Regions from separate parts of the Homo sapiens genome. Here regions 1, 2, 3 and 4 are each linked to region 5. The links are contacts of gene promoters, found by promoter capture Hi-C in blood cells and fetal thymus (Javierre and others, 2016). All regions are on one chromosome and are shown on one strand. Each heading gives the region's core, a stretch centred on a gene start or on the middle of the fragment in contact. The rest is flanking DNA. Distances are from core to core; before and after follow the strand shown.

Region 1 (3,680 bases), core at 835-3,334, 420 kb after region 5:
GAATCATTAAAGTAAAATTTCTGAGAATAGATATTCCTTAATTTCCTTCATTAACTTTGGCCATTAAAAGTCAAGAAGCTCTCTCATTTATTAGCAAACTTTTCTCCTTATGATTCTATTTTGATTGTCCTTTTGTTTGAGGAAGCAGCATATGGTGGTTAAGAGCATAGGATCTAGAGGCAGATACCTCTGAGTTAAGGGTCCCAGCCCTTCACTTGTGAGCTTGAGCAAGTTACTGAATGCCTCTGAGCCTCTTTCCTCCTTTTGAAATGATGATAAGAATAGCAGCCATCTGAGCAGTTATTGTAAAGGTTAAATGAGATAATGCTTGTGAAGCACTTAGCCCATTGCAGGAGTCTTGATGACACTGTGTACTTGAAAATAGATGTTACCTGTTAAAATTCTTGTTTAAACTTCCACAACTCTTAAAACTCTTTTTTGCTAGTCCTTCCAGCTGTTTCCTTTAGTTTCTTTTCTGTGTCTTCATGCATCTTTTCTATCTCCTGAAAGTGAAAAGACTAACATTGGATCCAGAGCTTGAAAAGCGTTTTTTTCCTGTTACAATGGGCAAAAGAGTACATCCTTGGGTTATATTGGCACCTAGTATCAGTTATTTTTCTTGAGCATCTGATCTGCTCTCTACTCTAGTGGAGGCCTCCTGCTTCACAATTGCTCACCCCTGTGTTTTCTCCCCAAATAGAATACTGAGTTTACTCTGGACTCTAGAGTCAAACATACACAGTATTCTAGTCTTACTGTTCATTTAAGCAAGATATGTGCAAGACACTGCATTCTTAGTACTGGCAGTAAGTTAAAACATTTTTCGTCTTGATGCCAAAGTTTAGACAATTTTATAAAAATTAACCTTTGTAAAAGATAATGAGTTGATAAAATATTCTCAGTAAAGCAGCTACGTGGTAGAAAAACTGTCCTTTGCTTATGAGTTTCTCCAGAGTTAAGACCATTGGGTTCCATCTGAAGGCAAGACTTCAAGCTTGTCTTACTGGTCTGTTTTGTGGCTCAATTTGTATGAAGTCTATGCACTCTTCCACACGTGTGTATTTACTGAACTATCGAGTTATTTTAGACTGAGAAAGTATTGGAGTTCATTCCTACGGTCCACTGCAGAGCACCTTGTGCAGTTTGGAGAATGTCAACTTTTCTACCTGTTAACTTCCATTGTCTTTACTTTTAACGCCATTGTCTGTGACTCTAATGGTGTCACGGCTCAGGGTTTAGATTTTGTGGTTACATTCTATTCTTGTATGTCAAGAGTGGTGTATAGAAAGCTGAGGGGGATTATTTAGTCTCTTGACTGATTTTTTTTTTTTTTCTGAAGAACTCAGTTTATTATGTTTGGTGGTGAAATAAAAATTGATGTGCATGGATGTTAAAGATTTGGGTTAAATTGTGTGTTCATAGATGCCTTCTCTTAGTATATAATTTTTTAAATTTAGATACTTAAAATACTGTATCCCTTTATCTAAGATTAACATAAGTCTGTTTCTTAACCAGGATAAAAAAATCTAAATTTAAATGTGATGTTGGATGAGTTTCCAATCAAGAAATTGATTTTTTAAACTTTGTGACTAGTTATCCAGTGGGTGGATTTTACCCAGTGTGTGTATGTGTTTTCTGCTTAACTCTGGAAGGTTAGAAAGAGAATTTGAAACTAAGACAAGCCAAGCTTCTTGTTGCTCAGTATTTTTGGTAAAAATATGGTCAGATTGTTTAAATTAACTATAGGCTTTGGAATTTTAAAAATAATTATATCTCTTGGTCTCTTGACACATCAAGAATTAACTGTTTTGTATATGCGTTGAGTATTAATGTTCATGTTTTCTGCAGTAGAAATTTATAAACCCTTATTTATTTGCCAGACATGATCCCTTTAGAGAAATCTAGTATCTAAAACCTGAATTTTTAAAACAAAATTTAAAATTTTTGTTTCATAAAAACAAAAATGTGATTACCTCATGGCTTTTTTCTTATAGCTTTTGATTGTTTTTTAAAATCGTAGTTCAAAAACATTAACCTAAAATTTACCATCTTAACCATTTCTAAGTACTGTTCAGTAGTGTTAAGTATATTCACATTGTGCCACTAACTTCCAGAACTTTTTCATCTTGCAAAGCTGAAATCTTACCCATTAAACAACTCCCAATTTCCCCCTCTCCTCAGCCTCTGGCAACCACCATTTTACTTTCTGTTTCTGCAAATTTAACTACTCTAGATGCCTCATATAAATAGAATTATAGGGTTTTAATATTTTTGTGATGGGCTTATTTCACTTTGTGTAATGTCCTCAAGGTTCATCCATGTTGTAGCATGTGTCAGAATTTCCTTCCTTTTTGAGTCTGAGCAATATTCCATTATATGTTCCATATTTTGTTTCTCCATTCATCCAGCAACGGACACTTGGGTTGCTTCCACATCTTGGTTATTGTGCTGCTCTGAACATGAGTCTGCAAATCTCTCTTTGAAGCTTTCACTTTTTTTGGATACATATCCAGAAGAGGGATGCTGGATCATATGGTAACCCTTTTTAATTTTCAAGGAACCACCATATTGTTTTCTATAGCAGTTGCACCAGTTTACATTCCCACCAACAGTGCACAAGGGTTCCTATTTCTCCACATCCTTCTAAACACTTGTTTTCTTTCTTTCCTTCCTTCTCTTCTCTTTCTTTCTTAGCCATCTAATGTGGCAAAGTGGTAGCCATCTAATATGTTGAAGTGATTGTTTTTAAGGGCTTGTTTGTGGATAATTAACCAGCTGAAAGCTAACTACAGTTTGCCAGTGGAAGCTTTAACTGAAAGGAGAGTAAGTACCTCTAAAAGGAGAATTCAATTTTTCTAGTGACTTAGATTTGTTATGCCAGTACTTTTTCACAGAAACACTTTTTGGGTAAAATAGTGTACACCTGTTCTATTGTTGATAAAGCCCAATTTAATTAGGAAATTTGTTCTCTAAGATTTAAAACAATAATTGAAATAATGTATTTTTATTAAAAACTGTTCCCAAGATGTTAGCTTTTAGCTGTTCTGGTGATCTCAACTGTTATTTATGAGTGTTTCTTTATTTTAAAATTTCACCTTAACCGGTTACAGTTTTAACCATAAAGATTATTTCAACATATGATTTTGAAAATTTATTATCTTGTAAATGGGAAAATGTAGTGATGGAACATAGTTTACTGTATGTAGTTCTTCACTTGTTTGAAAAGTCACAATATATTTAGGCAAATTAATTTAAAAGTGTCTAGTATTTAATATTGCAATTTTCACTCATTAAGGACAGGTCCCCCGTGTTTCCCCCTTTTTTTTTTCCAAGTAGTTTGGGAGGATTTGTTTTTCCAGCTGAAAAATACTATGGTTAAAAATAAGGTTTAAAGGCGAAAGTTGAAGTCTTTGAGGGTTGGGATACGTTTCTGTTCTTAAGAGTCTTGTAAATTCAGATGCTAAGCAAATTTCTTTAAAATGATTTCTACCCTCCCCCTTTCCATTATAAAACTGGATATGTTTCAGTGGACCAAATCCCAAGTAGGCTGAATTTGAAATTTGTGGGCTGGGCGCGGTGGCTCATGCTTGTAATCCCAGTACTTTGGGATGCCGAGGTGGGTGGATCACCTGAGGTCAGGAGTTCGAGACCAGCCTGGCCAACATGGTGAAACCCCATCT
Region 2 (4,020 bases), core at 229-2,728, 260 kb after region 5:
CACACAAAGCTTCTACCCCCTTAGTATCACCCCGGACCCTCCTTCTCCCGGTCCTGGTTTCTGTTTCATGGTATTCATCCTCCTCTGGCCTCTTCATGGCATCCTCCAGCTGCCACTCTGGCTGCTTCTCACCCTACACCAGGGGTCAGGAGCCATGAAAGTCCGTGAGTGATACCAGCCAGGTGGGAGGTGATAGGGAGTGGTGGGGCATGTGACTGACTGGGCATCTGGTGCCCCATGAAAAGCAGAAGCCCCTGCTCAACTCCAGGCCGTTTCTATGAGAGGAGTGCAGGCCCAGTGTTCCCGAGTATCTCATTTTCCACGAGAAGTTGGAAAACCTGACTTTTCATGTGATGTGACATTTCCTAGCGTTTAAATATTTGAGAAGTAATTAAAATTATTTCAAAACACACTAGGTAGGCCAAATAAAATGTGTCTGAGACCTAGGGCTGGTATCAGTTCTAGTCTGTCTCTGTCACTTTCCACAATCTAACCTGCCCTCCCAGCTTCAGTGGTTACTCAAATTTCAATGTCTCTGAGCGTTAGATGGCCAGCCCTGGCCTGCACCCCAGATTTACCCTAGAATTCATCTGCATGTGGGTGCCCACACACCTCCAATGCAAAGCGGAGCCCATCAGCCTCCCAGATTTGGCAGACTGTAGGATCTCAGTAAGTGTGAGCTATTTTTGTCTTTGTTCCACTAACAAAAATACTACTACTACTAACACTGCTACTAATACTCATGCTACAAAGAATAATCTCTTGCCCCTCTTTTGTTCCATTTCTGTTACTCAACACCACTGCCCCATCAGGCAGCCAGGGAGGACCCTGTGATCTTGGACTCTTCACTCCCATTCCCGGCAGTTAGTGGATTGTGTTTATTCTTCCACGGCCCTCTAGAATGTGCTTCCAACTCTTCCTTCCAATTAACTAGAAACTCTCCTAGTTGCTGAACTTGTCATGTGTTCTCAGCTATTGTCTCAGCCTCTAACTGCTCACCACCAGGCGCTACCTCTGCATTTAAGATTTATTCATCACGCTGTGGCTAGTGTCATCCCCTAAATTGCCGTGCAGCTCTCATCACTCACCTCGGATGGATCCCACCGGCTGCCCCCGCAGTTCCTCAGCCATCCCTGCATGCCAGCTGTACCAGGCACTTGTATGCCTCTGCATTTGTGCTGGCTGTGTCCTCAGGCGCATTTTCTTCCTTCATGCCTACTATGTTAATTCTGTTCGTCCTCATCTCTGGTCAAATGCCACCTCTTCCACGAGGCTGTCACTTGCCTTCCCACCACCAGCCCCAGTGTTATTTGCCCCGTGCCTCTTCCAAGCTCTCACAGCACTTGATCTAAGTCTCTTTTCATTTCATCCGGCTGTGTATTATGAAGTTTGCTTGATTCTTCCCCCTTCTCTTGATTAGCTCCTGGATGAAGAGACACTGTCTTTGTCATCTGCGTATCCCCAAGAAACCCCTAGTGTGCTGCCTTACATGTAGTAGACACCTTGAAAACCTTTGTCAATTGAATCAAAGTTTGTTTGTGTGTGTGTGTGTTTTGTTTTTTCTTTTGGTTTGTTTTTTTTGTAAGTTGAGGATGGCTGCATCTAAAGGGCTCAGGCCAAGGTATTAAAAACAAAACTGCTTGGTTATTCAAAAGGATTTATCAGAACCCCAAGAGGCTAAGTATCAAGCTAGTGAAAGGGTTATTCTGCCTGTCCCCAATTCCAAGGGTGCAGTTTTTAGAGGACGGACGGTCGTGTTTGGTCTACTTGTCGTCAGGCAAGGCCTCTTCCACAGTGCCCCATGGAAGCTTGGGTTCAGTGCCAGGGGCAGGGAGGAATGGGCAAGCCTCTTGGACACTGGGGCTTCAGCCACCCTGGCATATAGAGTCCTGCACTGTTTGTCTTGCCCAGAAGAACAGGCTGTACCCACCCATTCACAAGATGTCCTCTCTCACATCATTGGCAGGCCTGGGAATTTCCCACAGGCCATCTGGGTGTGTTCTGCCGTCCTGTCTCCCAAGTTTTTTGCAGCATTGTTTCTTGTTAATTAGCTCTTAGAATAGCAACTGCTCTTCCATCAGGAATTGTATCCCGTTGACTTTCCTAAGGCAAGAATCTACTCATTTCTTTTTTGTAAGCATTTTCTCCCTTCCTGCCTGCATTGCACAGGCTTACTTAGTGAGAGCCCAAGCAGTGTGAACTAACTCCTAGCTCTTACAGAACTGAGTTACTTATAATATGCATCTCCTGAATCCTGGGTGACCACTGTAAGTGCCTGAAGTGGCAGCTGCTCTGACTGGGCCTGTGCAGCTCTGAATGCTGCATTTACTTTTGGGTCCTGCCTCCAACCCAGAACCACCTGTGGCCTTTAATTCCTGTTACTAGGAGAGAGGAGAAGCGATTAAACCCTGTCAGTATATTCATTTATTAGCTGCCCTTTGAAGCTTTTTTGAAAGCATTTTACAAGGTATATCCCGTCAGGTTGCTTAGGAACTTTTGCAGCCTCCTTCTTCAACATTATCATTTTCATTTGAATCAACACTGGCAGCTTGACACCTCTGGACACCTGGCATGGCAGTGGGAGGTACCTCCAAACACTGTCTTTCCGTGTCTGCACCTTCAACAAGATTTTCTCTGTAAATTCAGCTCCAAAACAATTTTTATAAACACAGCATTACTTTTGTGTTGTTCACAAATCAGATTTGGAAAGAGGTGCTTGGGGACTGTCATGAGTCTATTTAAAGATAACCTGATTTAAATAAAAACAAAAACAAAACTTTTTATCCAAGGCAATTTTCTTTCAATATGGGAAATTAAATTAGCTTCAGTGTCTTTGAAATTGAGAACCACACTCCGGCCATGAAAAGTGAATTATCCTGTACTAATCCTTGCTCAGGAAGTGATCAAAACACCTTTCCTGGCTATTTTGTGAAAGCAGATTTAGCCCAGCATATTTTGATAGGAGCCCAGCACTAAGGAAGTTTCCCAACTGATGGAAATACAGAGAATCTCTATGCACACATCGCTTAGCTGTGTGGCAGCGCTCGTTTTAGTTTTTGGTCTATGGAGCAATGGAATCTCAGTCATTGAACCTACTTCGAAACAGCAGTGGTGGGGGGAACATCTTGAAGAAAAGCCTTTCATCTAGAGCTATGATATCTTCGCTGCATAAAGAAAAGTGGCCAACTTTGTTTTTTCTAGAGCCAGGACACAGACCTTTTCAGTATGTCACCTTTGCTGCTTCTTCACACAGATCTTCAAAAATAACGACTCTCTCTCCTCTCTGTGGTCTCGTCAGAGAGCAGGAATCCTGGCCAGCTGGTCAGGTCACTCAGAAAAATGGCACAGCTGTTTCTGAAAGTAGCCCCATTCATAAGATGTCTGCTGCCCACAACTGCAGTGTTGGGGAAAGGCACACTGTTATAAAGAGCTTCTTTTCTTTAAAGAGGAAAGAAAAATACATGGTGTTTACAGAAAAGAAAACTGGACCCTCCTGCTTTCTTTTAGTGGCCATGTCTGAAATGGAAGTGGGAAAAGCCATAAATCCACACAGGCAATCGCGCCTTTAAGGCATGATTCATACTGACTGTGCTGCCTGTGATGGAAAACCCAGCTAGTTAAGCAAGACCTGCCAGAAAGTCTCGCACAGCTCCTCTGCCATGGCTGATGCCTGCTGTCTTGTGACGTGCTGGTTGTATGTGAATGAATGATTGACACTTTCTCTCTCTCTCACTCAGTTCATGACCAAGAACCCCACCATGCGCTTGGGCAGCCTGACTCAGGGAGGCGAGCACGCCATCTTGAGACATCCTTTTTTTAAGGAAATCGACTGGGCCCAGCTGAACCATCGCCAAATAGAACCGCCTTTCAGACCCAGAATCGTAAGTGTCCCAGGCTGTCACAGAGACATTCCTTTCTTCAGATGTCACAGCATTCCACCAAAGTCCGTAGAAGAGCTGGATGGCCCCTGTGGGTGACAGACCAGAAATTCAGCTGGATACTGCACAGGGCAGCCTCCCC
Region 3 (3,938 bases), core at 345-2,844, 490 kb after region 5:
GGTGTGAGCCACTGTGCCCGGTCGCCCCCACGTTGCAATAACATCAGCCTGTCAGGTTGTTTGTAATTCAGGTAGCAAATTGATTTTTGGGAGCACTCTGGGTCTGTTCTGTAAAGTAACTTTATTTTTGAGCAAGGATCCTTAATCTCTGGCCTGGAGATGGTCCATGTCCCTCTCCCCCACCACATTGTATGAAAAATTGATGTCATACATATGGATCCTTTTTTTTTGAGATAGATTCTCTCACTCTGTAGCCCAAGTTGGAGTGCAGTGGCGCAATTTTGGCTCACTGCAACCTGCAACCTCTGCCTCCAGGGCTCAAGTGATACTCATGCCTCAGCCTCTCGAGTAGCTGGGACTACAGGTACGCACCACCACACTCGGCTAATTTTTTGTATTTTAGTAGAGATGGGGTTTCACCATGTTGCCCAGGGTGGTCTCAAACTCCTGAGCTCAGGCGATCCGCCCGCCTCAGCCTCCCAAAGTACTGCAATTACAGACATGAGCCACCCCACCCAGCTCATATGGATACATTTTTAGGGTGAGGTACTGTAATTATCCTCAGATTCTCAAAGGTGTTCATGTCCCCCAAAAAGGTTAAGAATTACTGTATTACAAGGAACTGAATATTCCTCAATATCTGAAGACATAGTATAATGCAGGAACTCTGGGAAAATATTTTGTGTAGATTGTTTTACTTCTACAACATTTCTGCAAAATAAGTGTTTTTAAACATTTTTAATTATTATTTTTAAAAATAGGGGTTTTTATCCGTGATTTAAAGTTGAGGAAACTGAGTTACAGAGACTAGGTTAGGAAGTAATGGAGCTAAGCTTCATACTCAGTTTTGTATGGCTGTGGTGCCTGTTTGTTGGACAGCAAAGGACTGGTCTGAGGTGGGACTGGGGTTAGAAATTTGTCATTCAACAAACAAATGAAGTGTAACAAGAACTAGGATTTTTTTTTCCCTCTAGCAGCTTAGTGAGAAAGAGGTAGGAGAGAGTTTATGTAGAAAACTAAATAAGATAAAAGTACTTTGTGTAATAGAAGGAATTTGTATTTTGTCTTTTTGGCAGAGGGGAGTCGTAAAGTTTTAGAGATTGGAGAGACATAATGTTTATGTTTGGAGTTGAGGTAAGGAGCTAGTTAGAGGGAATGGTTGTATATAGGAGAGGTAGCGAGCAAGGTTCCTGCTATGGAGGAGGTGGGTGTGTCTGCGATTGAGAGTCCATGGAGGGAGTAGCCTTGAGCAGAAGGCATACTTTTTCCTTTGAAACTTGAGGAAAGAAGGTGAGAATGGATTTTTATAAATCTTTGTGTAGAGGAGAAATAGAAGGCAAACAGACCTGATTGCCTGAACTTTAAGAGAGCATCATGGGGATCAGGGAACTGAGAGTTGAAAATGTTTGGAATAGCGGTTGTGGAGAATGGAAGAAAGATTTCGGGATACCAGAAAGTTGAGAAATGCTGATGTGAATCATGAAGAGAGAGGCATAGGACATTTTCAAACAGCAAGACATTATTCTTATCAATATTCTAATGAAAAAAGATGATCTGAACCCAGTTGGTTACAATTTCTTTTTTTTTAATTTTTGAGACAGGATCTTGCTTCATCACCGTGGCTGGAGCGCAGTAGGGTGATCGTAGCTCACTGCACCCTCAGTCTCCTGGGCTTAAGTGATCCTCCCACCTCAGCCTCCTGAGTAGCTAGGCCCTCACCACCATGCTGGCTAATTTTTTTTTCCGAGACGGTGTCTTGCTCTGTGTCCCAGGCTGGAGTGCAGTGGTATGATCTTGGCTCACTGCAACTGCCACCCGGGTTCAAGCGATTCTCCTGCCTTAGCCTCCTGAATACCTGGGATTACAGGCACGTGCCACCACGCTGGGCTAATCTTTGTATTTTTAGCAGAGGCAGGGTTTCGGCATCTTGGCCAGGCTGGTCTTGAACTCCTGACCTTGTGATCCACCCACCTTGGCCTCCCAAAGTGCTGGGATTATAGGCGTGAATCACTACGCCTGGCCCATGCTGGCTAATTTTAAAACATTTCTTGTAGAGACAAGGTCTTGCTATGTTGCCCAGGCAGGTCTTGAACTCCTGAGCTTGGGTGATCTTCCTACCTTGGCCTCCCACAGTGCTGGGATTATAGGCATGAGCCACCATGGTTGTCCGGTTTTAATTTTTCTGACTGTTGACCAATTTGGTGGTAGAATGTAAATATTTTTTCAACATATCTTTTTCAACATGCTTTTTCATTCTAAGCTCTTTTAAGTTGGGGTTGATGAACAAAGGTCTACTCTTTTAGAGTGAATAGAGAAGAGTATCAGAAGGGTCAAGCTATGAAATGCCTATACCTGGAAGCTTTTAGGAATGGAATAGTCTGTGAAGTTATCCTGGCTCTGTCGGATCTCTGGCTTGTGACATAATTGCTTTGAGAGCCTTGTCCCTTGATACTTCTGCTGGCTCTATATCTTTTGTCCTAGCATAGCCTGTAATCCATTCTCACTGATAATTCTTAAATTTAATACTTTTAAATTTTCCTTCTACTGCCTGCAACTGCTATTAAGTCTTCATTTCAGAAGATCTGAATTCTGGTCATGATTCTGCCACTTGTTCTAGTTTTGTGGTTAAGAGGCATAATAAAATGAAAAGAGAACAGGATACTGAATCAAAACATTTGACTTCTAATTCTAGCCCGCTGCTATGTAAGTAGGACCTTGAGCAAATTATTTCATTTCTGTTTCTTCATTTATACAGTTATAATAATGGACATCGTGTGCTGAGTACTCACCATATACCTGGAACTATGCTAGATGTTTTATGTATGTTATCTCACTAATTATCATAGTAACCCTGCAGAGAAGGTGGTATTTCCTTAGTTTTTTTTTTTTTTTTTTTTTTTGAGATGGAGTCTCCCTCTGTCGCCCAGGCTGGAGTGCGATCTTGGCTCACTGCAAGCTCTGCTTCCTGGGTTCATGCCATTCTCCTGCCTCGGCCTGCTGAGTAGATGGGACCACAGGCGCCTGCCACCATGCCCAGCTAATTTTTTGTATTTTTTTAGTAGAGACAAGGTTTCACCGTGTTAGTCAGGATGGTCTTGATCTCCTGACCTCATGATCCGCCCGCCTCGGCCTCCCAAAGTGCTGGGATTGCAGGCGCGGGCCACCATGCCTGGCCTTTTTTTTTTTTTTATTTTTTAAGGCAGAGTTTCCCTTTTATTGCCCAGGCTGGAATGCAGTGGCACGATCTCGGCTCACTGCAGCCTCCACCTCCCCACCTCCCAGGTTCAAGCGATTCTCCTTCCTCCGCCTCCCGAGTAGCTCGGACAACAGGCACCCGCCACCATGCCTGGCTAATTTTTTGTATTTTTAGTAGAAATGGGGTTTCACCATGTTGGCCAGGGTGGTCTCGAACTCCTGACCTCAGGTGATCCGCCTACCTCGGCCTTCCAAAGTGCTGGGATTACAGGCATGAGCCATCGTGCACGGCCCCCAGTTTTAAAAATAAGGAAACTGAGGTTTAGAGAAGTTAAGTAGTTTGTATAAGGTGAGGCACAATAAGGTACAGACACTATGTTTGAATGTCCAAGTCTATAAGGCTCCAAAGTCCATGCACTGTCTTTTATTTCTTATTTAATTTTCTTCTTCTTTTTTTTTTTTTTTTTTAAAGGTGGGGGTCTTGCTGTGTTGCCTGAGTTGGCCTTGAATTCCTGGGCTCAAGCCATCCTCATGCCTCAGGCTTCTGAGTAGCTGGGACTACAGGTGCACACTACTGTGCCTGGCTTCTTTAATCTTCTATAGTGCTTTACATTCTACTGAATACTTTCACCTGTATAAGCTTGTTTAATACTTAACAATGGTGGGTTTGTTCATTTTGTACAAATGCGAAACATGAACATGATTCTTAGGTTGAGGGACTTCCCCATTGTCATCCATTGAGC
Region 4 (3,882 bases), core at 1,383-3,882, 440 kb after region 5:
GGTATTTCAGTTCCTAAAATTCCTTCAAATATGCTGCAAAATACAAACCAAGAACTTGGTGGATTTTCCATTTGTTTTCCTGTGGGAAATGATGGAATTAAAAACCTTGAGGATTAGACCTTGAGAGTTACCTTCCAGTGTTTATGCCACCATTATACAAAATTCTGGAGGACAAAACCCTTCCCACTTAAAAACCAGTTAGTTTCAGAAAATCACCTCATGTTAGGAGACTGCATCATTATAGTATGTGTGTTAGCTTTAGGTATAGATCTAAAATATTTTTAATATTTTAAAAACTTAAGCCTTTCTTCATTAATTTGGCCTAATACAAGTTAGAATAACTTTAAAAATGAGTACAAACAACAAGGAAGGGCCAGGCGCAGTGGCTCAACGCCTGTAATCCGAACACTTTGGGAGGCCAAGGTGGGCAGATCACCTGAGGTCAGGAGTTCCAGACCAGCCTGGCCAACATAATGAAACCCCATCTCTACTAAGAATACAAAAATTAGCTGGGCGTGGTGGCACACGCCTGTAATCCCAGCTACTCGGGAGGCTGAGGCAGGAGAATTGCTTGAACCCAGGAGGCAGAGGTTGCAGTGAGCCGAGATCGCGCCATTGCACTCCAGTCTGGGCAACAAGGGTGAAATGCCGTCTCAGGAAAAAAAAAAACAGTTTCTGTGACTGCTAGACAAATGTTGAGCAAGTAAAACACCAACAATGTTGAACTTAGATATTGAAATAGCTGCTCTGTACAAATAAAGTCTACTGGGAGTATAGACTGAATTACCATCTTTTGACTCTTTCGCCATAATGATTGGCATTACCGGAAGGGATTACCTTGCTTTGAAGAGCTGCTGGACAGTAGAGCAGAGAGCATCTATTACCATTGTAGGTGCCTTTCAGTTAGGATTTTGGATTTATAAGCAAACTCCAAGAAAGAGCCTGGTTCTGAGTTTCTCTGAATAGCTTAGGTCAAGTCCTAAATTCTGAAGCCAACTCCTATAATTCCTTCTTTATGTCTTTGGCATGTGAAGTAGGCAAATTTCGAACTTTATAATAATAGCCTAGACTTACAAATACTTGCCTTGGTAATCAGGATGAGTTTTTGAGAGACAACATAGTCTAGTGTTAATCGCGTGGACACCAGACTGCTTGAGTGAAATACAGGTTCTACCATTTATTAACGGAGTAATGTTGGGTAAGCTATTTAGCCAGGGTCCTTATCTGTAACATGGTGATAATAATAAAGATTAAATAATAGGTGAAAAATGTTTAGAATACCACTGTGTTATTAGTAAGCACCATGCATAGGTGTTTGGATTTAAAAATACTGGCAAAGGCCAGGTTGGGTGGCTCACACCTATAATCCTCGCACTTTGGGAGGCCAAGGCAGAAGGATCGCTTTAGCCCAGGAGTTCAGGACCAGTCGAGGCAACATAGATTCCGTCTCTGCAAAAAATTTAACAGAATTAGTTGGGCATGGTAGCGTGTGCCTGTAGCTACTTGGGAGGCTGAGGTAGGGAGGGGGAGGATTGCTTGAGCCCACGATTTCGAGGCTGCAGTGAGCTTATGATCATGCCACTGTACTCCAGCTTGGGTGACAGAGCAAGACTCTGTCTCTAAAATAAAATGAAAATAAAACTGCAGGCAAAAATGCCAACTGAAGAGTGAACATGAACTTTTCTTTGCATTTTTCTTGGGCCTGAGACTTTAAGAAGTGCAGGGCAGTTAAAATGATGAGATATAATTCTCACCTATCAGCTCAGCAGAAATTAATAAGATTAAAAAGATGCGTAATATATAATATTGCAGAGTGCATGGGGGAATTGATATACACATTCATGAACTGGCAGAGACAAAAATGGGCACAGAACCATTTGGAAAGCTATTGTGTATTTTAAAAAATTTCAGTAGCACATTTTTTATATCATGAAATTTCACTTCAGAATGTCAGTCCTGTAGAAATACTGACGCAAGTGCAAAAACAACAAAAACCAACTTGTACCTTCAAGGCCAGAAAGAGTTATTTCACCAAATAACATAATTGAGGTACATTAACTTTATTAGAAGTAAATCTGATAATCTGCTCACATTTTAAATAGTTATGGTTTAACTTCAGTTCTTGAAGTCACATATTTTTACAATTAGGAATGCTAACAGGCTTTTTGTGCAATACGAAAAGATGACTTTAAATGCCTACAATTATTTTGTGTCCTTTTATTTTTTTTTAATTTTTACTGACCTACTACAAAGCACTAAATATTTTATGTTCTTAATCTGAAGAACAATAGACATTCTCTATAAAACAACTCTTGCTTATTCATGAACTTTGTACACAAGAAGCTTAATAAGACGGGCTCAAAATTATTTTTCTAAATATATTTCCTATACAAAATAATTTCAAGATATAATTGTTACTTTTGTGTCTAATACTGTATGTTAAATAATAAAATGGTAAGCATGTAAAAACTACAATACCACAAAGATTGAGCTATTTTGCCAGTAGTATACTCCAACTTTAGTTCTAGAACAGTTGTAGAAATGGGTAAACAAACTGTTTTAACTGTACTCTTAACTGAAATATAGTACCTTATGCAGTAGCAGAACATATCAGCAGAAGAACTTCACTTGACCTGTACTTAAAAACAAAACAGATGCAATTTATAAAATTTAGAGAAATATAGTGACCTTATTTGCATGTGGAAAATGTACTTCTTTCTGATCTACATATCTTCTGTTGTGCAATGTAAGCAGTAAAACAAATAGTACAGGATTCATCTCTGTGGGACCTAGACCCCCTGGTCTAACAAATAATTCTTGGTCAGTACTGTAATTCTGTGGTATAAAACTGATAAAATTAGCCTTCCTGTGACTAGACAAGAAGCCGGGCAGTTTAAATGCTGAAACTCACAAGAACTTCAGAAGCTTTAGCTTTAAGCTTTAAGCTTACTTAGAAATGTTATAAGACCTCCAGTAGTCACATATGAAGAATATCATGAAGATTTTTCCATTAAATCTTTATTATAGATCCCTTGATTGGTTTCTGTCTAGACTCATTGTGTGATAAAGGACATAATAATTTTTATCACCTTCATCTAATATAGGTTTGTCAACTCTATATTAGTTGTTTTCTTGAAGGCTGGTTTTCTTCCAAAATTCAGTCTTATTTTCAGTCTACACTAGCTTTTAAATATACTGTCCTTTAGATGCTTTATCTAACCTCAAATTTCTAATGGATTTGTCTTAGACACTTATTGCCACTCCTTAGATAGTCATTGCTATCTTTGAAGTTCTGGACGATACGTGTATTACAGAGGAACTGGAGACATTCCATCACCATAGTTAGCTTGATTGGATACCCTTTAAAAGCATATACTCGCGCCTGTAATCCCAGCACTTTGGGAGGCCGAGGCGGGTGGATCACTTGAGGTCTGGAGTTTGAGACAAGCCTGGCCAACATGGTGAAACCTGTCTGTACTAAAAATACAAAAATTAGCCTGGCATGGTACCACATGCCTGTAATCCCAGCTACTCAGGAGGCTGAGGCAGGAGAATTGCTTGAACCTGGGAAGTGGAGGTTGCAGTGAACCAAGATCTTGCCATTGCACTCCAGCCTGGGTGACAAGAGCAGAACTCCATTAAAAAAAAAAAAAAGCATATATAGCACATATTATAAGGTTTTCAATTTTTTCACCAAGTGTTTCATTTGGGTAGTCATTTATTGGTAGTTTACATCAGTTGAGTGGTTCAGAAAAAATACAGTAAGTTGCTTATAAAATTCTGAACACTTTGGCCAGGCACAATGGCTCAAGCCTGTAATTTGAGCCCTTTGTGAGGCTGAGGCAGGAGAATTGCTTGAGCTTAGGCGTTCAAGACCAGCCT
Region 5 (3,689 bases), core at 370-2,869:
GCTGCCTGATCTTTGTTACTTCACATTGCTAGGTCTCTCAATCTCTTCCTCTAATAGGGGTTTAATAGGAGTCTCCATAGGGATCCCTTCCACTCTCAGACTTGAAGAACCTCACATGGCAACTCAGTGTCGTGAAGGAGGTGGGAAGAGTTTGCAAGGATGTTTCACTCTGCAGTCAACATCCCTCCCCGCGGCAAGACAGTCTAGCAGCCCCCCAAGAGCAAGGGGGGTAATTCCCTTATCTGGTCCCCTCATTCACAAAGGGAGGAAAAGCTAGGCGAGGTTGGAATTGGGTGACGGGCGAGGAGGAGATGCCAAAAGCACCTTGCAAGAGTTTTGGCAAGAAGCAGGAGGGATCCCTGGAAAGCCGGAATCACTCCTCGTCGTCGTCGTCCTGGTCCTGGTAGCGAATGTAGACGACCAGCATGACAAAGCCGGTGAGGATGCAGAGGGAGCCGACGACCAGGTAGGCGATGCCCAGGAAGGGGTTCTTGCCACCCATCCACGAGATGCTGCTGAAGATGAGGAGCTTGTGGCCGCCGAACGCGCGCACCGGGTAGTTGTAGGTGATGTTGACGCGGTAGGCGCCCCGCGGCAGCCCGGCCGAGTAGTTGCCCTGGCGGATGCGCGCGTACAGTTTGCGGAACGTGGGCAGCGCCGCCGTGCGCATCCACACCACGAAGTCCTGATTGATGAAGCCGGTGTTGTTGGGGTCGGGGCTGAGCTCGTAGACTGGCCGGCGCCAGTTGGGCGGGGGCGCCGTGCCCTGGAAGGCCAACGCCAGGCTGCCGTTGACCAGCGGCGGGTTGCGGAACTTGACGTGGTAGTCGGTCCACCAGGCGATGCCGGAGCGGTCGAGCGGCACCTCGACGTAGGGCCCGCCGGGCTGGCGCTGGTGCCAAAGCGAGAAGGAGTCGTTGAAGAGGCTGTTGGCGATGGCGCCGCAGGGCGCGATGGGCAGGCCGGCCGCGCTGCGCTGGTAGGGGGCGCACTCGTTGACAGGGTGGCGCAGCGCGCTGGGGAGTCCGCTCAGCTGCGCGTCGTCGCGGGACACGCCGTAGCGCCGGTTGTTCTGGTAGAAGTTGGTCAGCTCGTAGTAGAGGTACACTGGGCCCTGGAAGAGCTCGGGCAGCGAGAAGTACCAGGCGCACGAGCAGGGGGGCGGCAGCGCCCGGCCCTGGCCAGCCGCGGCGCACACCGAGCAGTTACCGGTGCCCGGGTCGCCTGTATAGTCGTACTCCAGCTCCTTGATGCCGTTGGAGGAGTAGTAGAGGCCCAGGCCCAGGCCGATGAAGGCCAGGCCCGCGCAGAAGAAGAGCGGCAGCGCGATGCTGGCCGACAGCAGCGGCTGCCAGGCGGGGAGGCGCTGCTGAGTGAAGGCGGTGTTGTCGGGCTGGTGGGCGCCCCGGGCCGTGGCGCTCCAGGTCATGGCGGCCGCGCGGGGACCGACGCGCGGGCTGACCGAGTGGGGGCCCCGCCGCGGGGCGCCTCCCTCTCCGCGCCGCGCAAGCCCGGGGACTGCTCGCGGGTCGGGTTTCCCGCCAGCTCAGGTGGGTTTTTGCCCGGGCCCCTCCTCTGCCTCCGTCACAGGTGAGTTTAGTTCCAGGCCCTACGAGCAGTGCCCACACCCTCCCAGTTCCGCCTCCGCCCAGGTGCGCTGCACCCCCGCGGGTCACCGGGAGCCGCACCTCGCCCGCCCCTTCCGAGGTGAGCAGGTGGGTGTTTTTTACCTCACCTGGTAGACTCAGTCTCGCGTTTCCTCTCAGTCCAGGTCATCGGACTCCACCTCCTCTCCTAGGTGAGTGGCGGCCCCGGGCTGCCTCTGAGTGGCTCCTACCTGGCTCAGGTACCACCTTCTCTTCCGCCTTCCAAGTGACTAGAGTTCCTGGGCCAGTCTCCCGAAATCAAAAGGCGCTCCGGCCTCCAGCAGAAATTTTTGCTGAGGGCTTGCACCGTGGTCCTGGAGGCTTGAAGATTTCAGATCCTTAATCCTCTGTTATTTGCGGGGAAAAGGTGGCTCTAGACCATTTTGTCTTTTAGGTTAGCTTCACAAACCGCTTTCGCCCAGCTTTCAGTCTCAAGTTGGGAGTGTCCAGGGAATTACGTTATGATAAATCTGTTTCGAATTCAACGCCTGCGTTCAAATTTTAGCTTTTTTTTTTTTTTTTTTTTTTTTTTTTTTTAAGGGAAAATGATTTTCTGGCCAGATCACCCAGTCTGGCTGTATAACTAGGAAATGTGGAAAGTTCTCTAAAAATAAAATCATCCTTAAAAAGAATCAAAGGCTGGAGAGGTTCAGAGCCTTTAAATAACTCTTAGCTGGTGTGGAGAAACCAAGAAAGGAAAAAATGTGCTGGACTACATGTGATTTCGTTTTCTTTTCAGATTATTTGCCTGACTAGAGAAAGGCCCAATCCAAGGTCCCAGGAGACCTAGCTGCTATCCACAAAAACATCTGGAGTGTCTGGCCTAAGGAAGTAAACTACAAGGATTTATAGGATTTATTATAAAAAGAACTCAAATTAGCTCCCTATGTTGCCTGGGATTCTGGCTTTTTTTTTTTTTTTTTTAAATCTAGGTTGGTAAAACATATACAAGGGGGTATTGGGACGTTCTGATTTCTTACTAAATCTAAATCTTCCCTAGGTATTGTGTTCTTGCTTCTCCTCCAGCTTGTAAAATGCAAGTAATACAAATGTTTTCTCTATTACACTACACCTAGCATAATATATTATATTCAGGAGTCATTCAAAACCCATTGAACTTGGAAAGTTAAAATCCTTATTAAATTTAACAGAGGAATGTTGTTAGCATCTTCCAAGTGTTCAGTCCTATGCTAATTAGACAAAAAAGGACCTTTGACCTCAAGGCATTTGCAGTTTGATAGGGGACATATTAGGAGTAAGAAACAATCAAAATAGCCAATAATAGCTATGAATCATAGGGTGTAATCAAGTATCAAATTGCATTCTACAAGTCACATTAAAATTAAAAAGTAATATTGATTTAATAATGGAACATTGATTCCAGTTTGTTAAATGAATGCAAGTTGGAAACCAGGTATTATAGAAGACTGAGGGAAATTCAAGTGACTTGAATTTCAATTCCCTCACTTCTTATCATACCCAAAGAGAGGAAGTTCCAAAATTCTCAGCAAGTTCCCACAGTGTGATCCAGTCTCCAGTCACCCTTTTTTTCAATAAAAGAATAAATAGTTCTTTGTATCATTATGGTTGAGTTCCACCCACCCGTTTCATTGAATCACTAGTCCACAAAACTCGTCTCTAGGAAGGAATTCAGTTTTCACAACTTTTGTAGATTTTTTTTTTTTTGAGAGAGAGGTGTCTCCCTCAGTTGTCCAGGCTTGTCTCAAACTCTTGAGCCCAAGAGATCCTTCTGCCTCAGCCTCCCAAATTGTTGGGATTATAGGTGTGAGCCATCACACCAAGCCTATCTGGTAAATCTTAAGTCTTTTTTCTAGTAGATCACCACCACACCCCTAAAAGGGCAAGCCCCATTCTTGAGCTCAGAGCCTTTCCTCCTTTTCTCCTATTCCTGGATGGCCTAAAGGTACTAGTTTATTCATTCCACTAATTAAGGTGACAGATTTTCAAAGTCAAAAGAGAATATTTCAAGACAAGGAATGGTCAGCAGAGTTAAACACAGCTGAGGGTTCAAGTGAGATAAAT

What was found. The method cuts DNA at HindIII sites, captures the fragments that hold promoters and counts their contacts. A CHiCAGO score of 5 or more calls a contact.
Region 1: a fragment that was not itself captured here is called in contact with the fragment with the promoter of TMEM30B in region 5 in 4 of 17 cell types (naive CD4 T cells, non-activated CD4 T cells, naive CD8 T cells and 1 more); the score reaches 7.1 in naive CD4 T cells.
Region 2: the fragment with the promoter of PRKCH-AS2 here is called in contact with the fragment with the promoter of TMEM30B in region 5 in 6 of 17 cell types (activated CD4 T cells, total CD8 T cells, non-activated CD4 T cells and 3 more); the score reaches 12.3 in activated CD4 T cells.
Region 3: a fragment that was not itself captured here is called in contact with the fragment with the promoter of TMEM30B in region 5 in 7 of 17 cell types (activated CD4 T cells, total CD4 T cells, non-activated CD4 T cells and 4 more); the score reaches 11.4 in activated CD4 T cells.
Region 4: a contact is called between a fragment that was not itself captured here and the fragment with the promoter of TMEM30B in region 5, in 6 of 17 cell types (total CD8 T cells, total CD4 T cells, non-activated CD4 T cells and 3 more). The highest score is 8.0, in total CD8 T cells.

What each region holds. Positions count from the first base shown.
Region 1 is chr14:61,698,141-61,701,820 of GRCh38, forward strand. All of the region lies in intron 1 of HIF1A (hypoxia inducible factor 1 subunit alpha), which reads left to right. Among named protein-coding and RNA genes, the nearest start is that of HIF1A-AS1, 4.2 kb to the left of the region's middle. The HindIII fragment of the contact is 798 bases long and covers 1,686-2,483 here.
Region 2 is chr14:61,544,006-61,548,025 of GRCh38, forward strand. It overlaps PRKCH-AS2 (PRKCH antisense RNA 2), which reads right to left and starts at 1,479. Exons shown (of 3, transcript NR_188139.1): 1 at 1,089-1,479. It overlaps PRKCH (protein kinase C eta), which reads left to right. Exons shown (of 14, transcript NM_006255.5): 13 at 3,738-3,881. The HindIII fragment of the contact is 1,799 bases long and covers 8-1,806 here.
Region 3 is chr14:61,770,521-61,774,458 of GRCh38, forward strand. All of the region lies in intron 4 of SNAPC1 (small nuclear RNA activating complex polypeptide 1), which reads left to right. Among named protein-coding and RNA genes, the nearest start is that of SNAPC1, 10 kb to the left of the region's middle. The HindIII fragment of the contact is 1,526 bases long and covers 832-2,357 here.
Region 4 is chr14:61,714,380-61,718,261 of GRCh38, forward strand. The region is part of intron 1 of HIF1A (hypoxia inducible factor 1 subunit alpha); the gene reads left to right. HIF1A-AS3 (HIF1A antisense RNA 3) reads right to left here. Exons shown (of 3, transcript NR_144368.1): 2 at 2,590-2,638; 3 at 1,179-1,449. Among named protein-coding and RNA genes, the nearest start is that of HIF1A-AS1, 20 kb to the left of the region's middle. The HindIII fragment of the contact is 582 bases long and covers 2,342-2,923 here.
Region 5 is chr14:61,279,719-61,283,407 of GRCh38, forward strand. It overlaps TMEM30B (transmembrane protein 30B), which reads right to left and starts at 1,620. Exons shown (of 1, transcript NM_001017970.3): 1 at 1-1,620. The coding sequence starts at 1,429. The coding sequence ends at 374. It also overlaps a transcript of PRKCH not described here. RefSeq lists an enhancer at 82-1,045. The HindIII fragment of the contact is 12,699 bases long and covers 1-3,689 here.